Linked DNA regions of Homo sapiens: regions 1 and 3 are each linked to region 2. Evidence: promoter capture Hi-C in 16 types of primary human blood cells and fetal thymus (Javierre and others, 2016). All regions are on one chromosome and are shown on one strand. The core of a region is centred on a gene start or on the middle of the fragment in contact, and the rest is flanking DNA. Distances in the headings are between cores, read along the strand shown.

The links. The method cuts DNA at HindIII sites, captures the fragments that hold promoters and counts their contacts. A CHiCAGO score of 5 or more calls a contact.
Region 1: a contact is called between a fragment that was not itself captured here and the fragment with the promoter of CD22 in region 2, in 1 of 17 cell types (M1 macrophages). The highest score is 5.3, in M1 macrophages.
Region 3: a contact is called between a fragment that was not itself captured here and the fragment with the promoter of CD22 in region 2, in 4 of 17 cell types (total B cells, non-activated CD4 T cells, total CD4 T cells and 1 more). The highest score is 7.2, in total B cells.

Annotation. Positions count from the first base shown.
Region 1 is chr19:35,591,809-35,594,597 of GRCh38, reverse strand. No RefSeq gene overlaps it. Among named protein-coding and RNA genes, the nearest start is that of LINC01766, 4.7 kb to the left of the region's middle. The HindIII fragment of the contact is 9,877 bases long and covers 1-2,789 here.
Region 2 is chr19:35,327,324-35,330,436 of GRCh38, reverse strand. CD22 (CD22 molecule) reads right to left here and starts at 1,250. Exons shown (of 14, transcript NM_001771.4): 1 at 1,207-1,250. RefSeq lists enhancers at 504-553, 624-673. The HindIII fragment of the contact is 19,927 bases long and covers 1-3,113 here.
Region 3 is chr19:35,069,355-35,072,341 of GRCh38, reverse strand. The region is part of intron 3 of HPN-AS1 (HPN antisense RNA 1); the gene reads left to right. Among named protein-coding and RNA genes, the nearest start is that of HPN, 29 kb to the right of the region's middle. RefSeq lists a silencer at 1,511-1,711. The HindIII fragment of the contact is 1,655 bases long and covers 831-2,485 here.

The DNA of each region.
Region 1 (2,789 bases), core at 33-2,532, 260 kb before region 2:
AAATATTTTATAACTTGTGTGTTTAGATCATGTGCCTTAAATATGATTATTGGTATGTTTTGCTTTAGGTCTACTATTATTTGTTTTTTATTTCCACTTTTCTGTGTTTTGTTCCTTGTTTTCCCTTTTCCTTCTTTCTTTTGGATTATTCAAATACTATTTTAGTACTCCATTTTAATTTATTTATTGTGATTTTCACTATATATCTTTGCAAGTTTTAAGTGATTGCTCTACGGATTATGGTAAACACACTTAAACATTCTATAGTCTACCTAGATTGAATATTTTGCAACTTCAAGTGGAATATGGAAAACTTCCACCATATTGGTCCCTTCATTGTCTCCCATGTATGCGTTAGCTTTCACATGCATTATAAAGACATGTATTGAAAATACATCCGTCCAGGGCTGTGGCTCACGCCTGTAATCCCAGCACTTTGAGAGGCTGAGGTAGGTGGATCACCTAAGGTCAGGAGTTCAAGACCAGCCTGGCCAACATGGTGAGACCCCGTCTCTACTAAAAATACAAAAATTAGCTGGGCATGGTGGTGGGCGCCTGTAATCCCAGCTACTAGGGAGACTGAGGCAGGAGAATCGCTTGAACCCAGGAGGTGGAAGTTGCAGTGAGCCAAGATCACACCACTGCACTCCAGCCTGGGTGACAGAGTGAGACTCTATCTCCAAAAAAAAAAAAAAAAGAAAAAAAAAAAACGAAAAGAAAAACGCCAGGCACGGTGGCTCATGCCTGTAATCCCAGCACTTTGGGAGGTTGAGGAGGGCAGATCCCGAGGTCAGGAGATCGAGCCCATCCTGGCTAACAAGGTGAAACCCCGTCTCTACTAAAAATACAAAAATTTAGCTGGGCGTGGTGGCGGGTGCCTGTAGTCCCGGCTACTCGGGAGGCTGAGACAGGAGAATGGCGTGAACCCGGGAGGCGGAGCTGGCAGTGAGCCGAGACCACACCACTGCACTCCAGCTTGGGTGACAGAGTGAGACTCCATCTCAAAAAAAAAAAAAAAAAAAAAAACCCTCCCAAAGTGCTGGGATTACAGGCGTGAGCCACCATGCCCAGCAGTCATTCCTTTCAATGGCAAAAACCGCAATTATTTTTGCATCAACTACACACACAGACACACACACACACACATATCTCATGTCACCTGCAGATACAGTTTTATTTCTTCCTTTCCAATCTAAATGCCTTTTTTTCTTTTTTGAGACAGAGTCTCACTCTATTCCTCAGGCTGGAGTGCAGTGTTGGTGTGATCATAGCTCACTGCAGTCTCAAAGTCCTGGGCTCAAGTGATCTCCCTGCCTCAGCCCCCTGAGCAGGTAGGACTACAGGCATGTGCCACCATGCTTGGCTAATTTTTTAATATTTTTTGTAGAGATGGGGTCATGCTGTGTTGCCTAGGCTGGTCTTGACATCCTAGTCTCAAGTGATCCTCCTGCCTCCCAAAGTGTTAGGATTACAGACGTCAGCCACTGCGCCGGGCCCTGTTTGCGTTTTTTTCTTGCAGTGACTAGAACTTCCAGCACTATGTCAAATAGGAGTGTCAAGAGCAGACATCCTTTCCTTGTTGTTGATCTTATAGGGAAAGTATTCCATCCTTCATCATTAAATATGATATATATTTGGTGTGTTTAAATCTATTATTGTTATTACTATTATTATTATTATTATTATTTGAGACGGAGTTTTGCTCTTGTTGCCCAGGCTGGAGTGCAATGGCGCCATCTCGGCTCACTACAACCTCCGACTCCCGAGCTCTAAGCGATTCTCCTGCATCAGCCTCCCGAGTAGCTGGGATTACAGGTGACTGTCACCACGGCTGGCTAATTTTTATATTTTTAGTAGAGACGAGGTTTCACCATGTTGGCCGGGCTGGTCTCGAACTCCTGACCTCAATTGATTTACCTGCCTCAGCCTCCCAAAGTCCTGGGATTACAGGAGTGAGCCACCGCGCCTGGCCGTTATTAATATTTTTGATGTTTAAGTTGTACCACTCTGGGCCAGTGGGCGCTCCTTCAAGTTAGCTTCTATGTCGAAAATAAAAATGATTTGTTAAGAGAAAGGTAAGTGATTAACAAGTGACTCCAGCAGGTAAAAAGATTGAATTGCTACTAACGGTCGATGGGAGGCAGTGTTGTCCACCTAGTGCTTAAGAACACGGCTTTTGGTGGCAGATTTCCTGGTTCCCAATCCTGGCCCCTCAGTGAATTCGCTGTGAGACCTGCACTGTGTCTTTCCAGCTCCCTGTGCTTTATCCTCAGTCTGTAAGAATGCAGGCTATAGGGTTAGTGTGGAGACCAAAAGAATCAATACTCCGAAGCTGCTCATAACAGTGGCTTGTACTTGACTCCGAGAGTTGCTGCTTTCACCATCATAGTGAAGACAAAGTACTCAAAATCTGCTACACGAAAAAGATTACAGGCCCAGAAGATTTTGCAGGCATGTTCACTCCAACTTTTTTTTTTTTTTTTGGAGATGGAGTTTCGCTCTTGTCACCCAGGCTGCAGTGCAATGGCGTGATCTTGGCTTACTGCAACCTCCGCTTCCCGGGTTCAAGTGATTCTCCTGCCTCAGCCTCCCGAGCAGCTGGGATTACAGTTGTGTGCCACCATGCCCAGCTAATTTTTGTATTATTAGTAGAGATGGGGGTTTCACCATATTGGCCAGGCTGGTCTCGAACTCCTGACCTCAGGTGATCCACCCGCCTCAGCCTCCCAAAGTACTAGGATTACAGGCATGAGGCACCATGTCCGGCCCACTCCAATCTTTAAGAAGCA
Region 2 (3,113 bases), core at 1-2,500:
GGTACTCATCATGTCACATGCAAAAAACATCTTCAAGGTCACATACACTTGAGAAAGGCAGGGTAAAAGAGTTAAGTAAGATTCTTTTTTTTTCTTTTGAGACAGAGTCTCATTCTTCTGTCGCCCAGGCTGAAGTGCAGTGGTGTGATCTCAGTTCACTGCATCCTCTGCCTCCAGGGTTCAAGTGATTCTCCTGCCTCAGCCTCCTGAGTAGCTGGGACTATAGGCATGTGCCACCACACCCGTCTGATTTGTTTGTTTGTTTGTTTGTTTTAGTAGAGATGGGGTTTCACCATGTTGGCCAGGCTGGTTTCAAACTCCTGACCTCAGGTGATCCCCCCAACTTGGCCTCCCAAAGTGCTGAGATGACAGGCGTGAGCCACCGCACCTGGCTTAAGTAAGATTCTTTACTGCAGGACTTTAAAAACCTTTCAGTAAACTCTATCTACACCATTAATCTCTAGACATGGGGATTAGAGTATAGTATAATACATTGTCCATACTTCTTTGGCCATGGGATCTATTTTACATGTTCCATAAAAAACTTAGCAGGGTTGCAGAGCCAGAGTTCTTTGAAATCCCCTTAAGGTTACCTAAGGGGTAACAAGGGCTGTGGCAAGGACTAGACTCCGTTCCCTGCAGCCAACACTTGCCTCCAGGAGCCGGGCCATTGTCCCTCCTCTGCCAGCACCCTCCAGCCACAACCTGCTCTGGGACGGGCTGGAGCATCCCAGCATGAGTGGGAGATGGGCGCCTCCAGAGCAGGACTGTGTGCTGCCTCAAGGAGCTCCAGGAGTCTCTGGAGCACAGGAGTAGGGCCCCAGGCCCGGGAATTGGAAGGCTGAGGGTGGGGTGGAGGTTAGGGACAGCAGTTATTATGCACAGAGGCTCAGGACAGGGCCATGCTGTCCAGACCTCCTCAGTCCAGGCCTGTTGAGGGCCTTGCAGAACCTTGGGGCTGACCTCCCTGGCTCCTTCTTCCCTCCTGGGCATCCAATAACCTACCCTACTCTCAGAAGACTCAGCAGGCCTGGCAAGGAGGATGCTCAAGACAGGGGTCTGTCTACAACCTGTTGTAACACCGGTAAGAGAGAGCCAGGGAGGTCCCCACTGTGTTCCCAGCTCTGGGAGGTATGCCTGGCCCATAACTGCTGTTCCGTAATAACTTGCTTGTTGAATGCAAAATAAAAGCAAAATGATTTTTACCTGTTTCCGCGTGTCTTCCCTCTTCAGGGACCCTGGCAGCATCTGAGAGCAAAAGGAGAAGTACAGTAAAGTCTCTGGTGACAGAGGTTTCCCCTCCATGGCCACACCCCCTGCTTCTCTATGGCTCTGAGGGGGACCAAGCAGCACCGTGATCTGGGGAGTGGGGAAAAGAGACGATTGAGGGGGATGCGGGCTCGGAGTCAGATTGGAAGACTCGAATACGTATGGGCAGTTCTTCCTTTCCGTGTATGGGTTTGCAATATCAGATCAGTTTCAGAATGGGCTCCTCCACAACTCCCCCTCTACCCAGCTCTCAGGAAATGCGAATGACTCAAGCCAAGCAGGAGAACTGCAGCCCGCTGAAAAAGGCACAGGCCTACCTGAAAGTATTTGTAGTTTAGTGACACCATCCAGTTATTACCATTTCCACTCTTTTCATCATAGGCATAAATGGTGGGGAATCTGACCACCTACACTGAAGCCCCCAAGGGTTGAGGGAGGAGCACATAGATATTGAGGAGGAAAAAGATATCTCGGCCGGGTGCGGTGGCTCATGCCTGGAATCCCAACACTTTGGGAGGCTGAGGCGGGTGGATCACTTGAGGTCAGGAATTCGAGACCAGCCTGGCGAACATGGTGAAATTCCGTCTCTACTAAAAATACAAAAAATTAGCTAAGTGTTTTGGCAGGCGCCTGTAGTCCCAGCTACTCAGGGGGCTGAGGCAGGAGAATCACTTGAGCCCAGGAGGCGGAGGCTGCAGTGAGAAGAGATCACACCACTGCAGTCCAGCCTGGGTGACAGAGTGAGACTCTGTCTCAAAAAAAAAAAAAGAAAGAAAGAAAGAAAGAAAGAAAAAGAAAAGATATCTTGTAGGACTGGGCATGGTGGCTCATGCCTGTAATCCTAGCGCTTTGGGTGGCCAAGGCGGGTGGATTGCCTGAGCTCAGGAGTTCAAGACCAGCTTGGGCAACATGGTAAAACCCCATCTCTACTAAAAAAAAAAAAAAAAAAAATCCAAAAATTAGCTGGGTGTGGTGGCGGGCGCCTGTGGTCCCAGCTACTCAGGAGGCTAAGGCAGGAGAATCACTTAAGCCCGAGAGGCTGAGGTTGCAGTGAGCAGATCGCGCTGTGGCACTCCAGCCTGGGTGACAGAGCCAGATCCTGTCTCAAAAAAACAAAAAAGATATCTTGTAGGAAGTGTTATTGAATGGAGAGTCTTTAGGCTGAAACCTCATCACCTTTATAATCCTGTAGCCAGCGAGTGTCTCAGGAGCAGAACAGACAGCATTGGAAGCCATGCACATCCTACAGATGAAGAGGGATGCGCTGAGAGGTCTTCACTCCAGCACCACTGCCCTCTATGGGCAGCTGGCCATAGGGAGGGAAACAGAGAGAGGGAAGAACACCTTCTTCCAAAAGCACCGATAGGGCTGGGTGTGGTGACTTATGCCTGTAATACGCTTTGGGAGAGCAAGGCAAGAGGATTGCTTAAGGCCAGAAGTTTGAGACCAACCTGAACAACACAGCAAAACTCTGTGGGGCTAGTCAACAAAAGCAAAAAATGAAAAGTAGCTGGGCATGGTGGCCCATGCCTGTGGTCCAAACTACTTGGGAGGCTGAGGCAGGAGGATCGCTTGAGCCTGGGAGTTCAAGGCTTCAGTCAGCCATGATAGCACCACTGCACTCCAGCCCAGGCAACAAAGTAAGACCTTGTCTCAGTAAATAATAAATAAATAAAATGAACAAAAAGCAGTGATGTTCTGGAAAGATGGAGTAGATGTATTTATTTATTCTGCCAAGTATAACTGAAAACCTTGAACGTGACAAGACAAGCATAAGAAGACTGAAAGATGGAGAGAAGCAGACTGGTTAGGAACCTCGGGACTTAAGGAATGGTGGTGAATTC
Region 3 (2,987 bases), core at 409-2,908, 260 kb after region 2:
CCTGCCCCTCGGAGGTGGACCTTGGACGGGATATGCAGCCCCTCTGTAGGACAGCAAACCCCACAGACCCTCCTTCCCAGCTTGCATGGCGATGAAACAAGTGTTTCCCAAAGGGCGGCACATGGGCTGCTGGCGGGAAACCCCGGGAGAGTATAGGATGGCAGTGAAGAAGGAATTGTTATTATTTCACTAGCATTTGTTTATTTAATACATTTGTTTTGATTTATATTGAAAAACATATATCTGCCACCGCCACATCAAACCCACAGTTTCTTTTTTTTTTTTTTTTTTTTTTTGAGACAGAGTCTCGCTCTGTCGCCCAGGCTGGAGTACAGTGGCGCAAACTCGGCTCACTGCAAGCTCCACCTCCCGGCTTCACGCCATTCTCCTGTCTCAGCCTCCTGAGTAGCTGGGACTACAGGCACCCGCCACCATGCCTGGCTAATTTTTTTGTATTTTTAGTAGAGATGGGGTTTCACCGTGTTAGCCAGGATGGTCTCAATCTCCTGACCTCGTGATCCACCCGCCTCGGCCTCCCAAAGTGCTGGGATTGCAGGTATGAGCCACTGCACCCGGCCTCAAACCCACAGTTTCATAAACATTATTGTTAAAGTCAAGGCTGGCAGGGCACAGTGGCTCATGCCTGTAATCCTAGCACTTTGGGAGGCCAAGGCAGGTGGATCGCTTGAGCCCAGGAGTCTGAGACCAGCCTGGGCAGCATAGCGAGACCCCATCACTATCAAAAATACAAAAATTAGCCAGTCTCATAACCCGGTCTCAAAATAAATAAATCAATAAAAATAATACATAAATAAAGTCAAGGCTAAGCTTAAAAAAAAAAGACACACACACACACACACAAAAGGAAAAGAGATAATTTGAATAAAACAATACAAGTAGTACCAGCGGTATTTGTTTGCCCCTAAGCTCCATAAAGTTGGTTTGTCCTGTCCCCTATATTTCTCCAATTCCTAGAACAGTGTCTGGCACATAATAGGTGCTTAATAAATATTATTTGAATGAATGAATAGCAAAAATTAAGACAGCCACTTTCAAACATCTGAATTTGGGGAAATACTGAAGTAACATGTATAAAACTCTCAGTACAGTACCTGTCACATAGGAAGTGCTCAAAAATATGCATGGATATGTTTATTAATATAAATTATTATTATTATTTAGAAGTGAAACAGGCATTGTGGCCAAATGCTAATTAGTGAAGTATTAAATTAAAGATTTGCCCAAAGCTGACTATCACCTTCTTAGAATGAACTTCTGTAATGTAAGAACAAATGTGAAAGTGTTCTAAAAAGTTATTACTGTCATAATTTTATTATCCACAATTTTAGCAGGGAAATATTTCAGGTTGAACACCTTACTGAGGGATCATTTCTCTGCTTTGTCAGCTGTTAATTTGCTCCGATAGTCCATAAGCTCCTAGGGCAGTTTTAAGATGTGGCCCCAAATTTTTTGACCTGCCTTCCACCACCAAAGGGTGGGGTCTCCATCTCCTCCTCTAGGGTCTGGACAGGTTTGTGATTGCTTCAGCTGACAGAGTGGAGCAGAAATGAGGCTGGGGTGTAAAGGCCAGTGTCTGCTGGAATGCTCACTCTGGAGCCATGAGCCACCACGTGAGAAGTTCAAATGTCCTTGGGTAGCCATATTGGAAGGAAGCCCAAGTTAGCCAGACAATGAGTCCACAGTACCAGCTGAGCTCAGCTTTTGAGTGATCCCAGCCCGGATACTAGACTTGTGAGTAAAGAGCCTCCTTTTGGGATACCGAGGCAGGAGGGTCACTTGAGCCCAGGAGTTCAAGACCAGCCTGGGCAACCAGTCCCATCTCTACAAAAAAAAAATAAAATTAGTTGGGTATGGTGGCACACACCCGTAGTCCCAGTTACTTGGGAAGCTAAGTTGGGAGGATCGATTGAGCCCAGGTGGTAGAAGTTTTAGTGAGCCATGATCACACCACTGCACTCCAGCCTGGGCGACAGAGTGGGACCCTGTTTCAAAACAAACAAACAAAAGAAGCCTCCCTATTCCAGTCCCTGTTCCTTTAGGCTTTCTAGCTAAGGACCTGGTCATCAGGGAGCAGAGACAAGCTGTGCCTGCTGTTCCCTGTCCAACTTTCTGAGCTGCAGAATCCATGAGCATTTACTGTACCCACTAGCTTTGGGTGGTATGTCATGCAGCAAGAGCCAAAACAGCTCCTCGCTTCATAACTGCAGGATTGAAACAGTGTTACTTTTTATGCAGAAACTAAAGTCCATCTCCCTACTTATGCTGCTATCTGAATGTTCACAATAATTATTTCTGAATATAAAATGAATAGCCTTCACCATCATTGCTAATCATGGCTGTGATTTTATGTATGAAATAACTGTTGTGGCAGAGTAGCTGTACATTTCTCCTTCAACCCAGCTGGGAGAATGCCAACTTATAACCACATATGGAGCTATCTGTTCCAACTAACATCCAGAAAGCTTTTCTATATTTGAAAAGGACTATGTAGATATAAATGCTAAATAGGAATGCAAAACTTGGCTTGGGTTCCTGATGTAGTTGCACTAATTCTGTAAGATGGGTCAAATATTTCTGATTCTGAGCGGCACCACAATGACATGGAAGTAATTTTCATATTCAGCTTTTCTGAAGACTGAGACCCTGGCAGGAACTGAAAGCAACCTTGTGACTGTTATTATTCTTTTTAAATATCTTCCTAGCTCTTTGGGGTGAGTGGCAAGGTTGCTGGGAGCAGGAGGAGAAACTGAGGCTCACTGACCCCTGGCATACAAGGGAAACCAGTGAATGGCTGTTGAGTGAATCACAATCTCCCCAGCCCCTCCACTCCTCCAACAAAGCAACAGTGCAGACAGAACTCAGAATGGCTGTCAGAGGCGTTTGAACCAGAGCAACTCCATCTTAAATAGGACCTGGGTAAAGTAAGGCGGAGACCTGCTGGCCCGCATTCCCGGTAAATTAAGGCA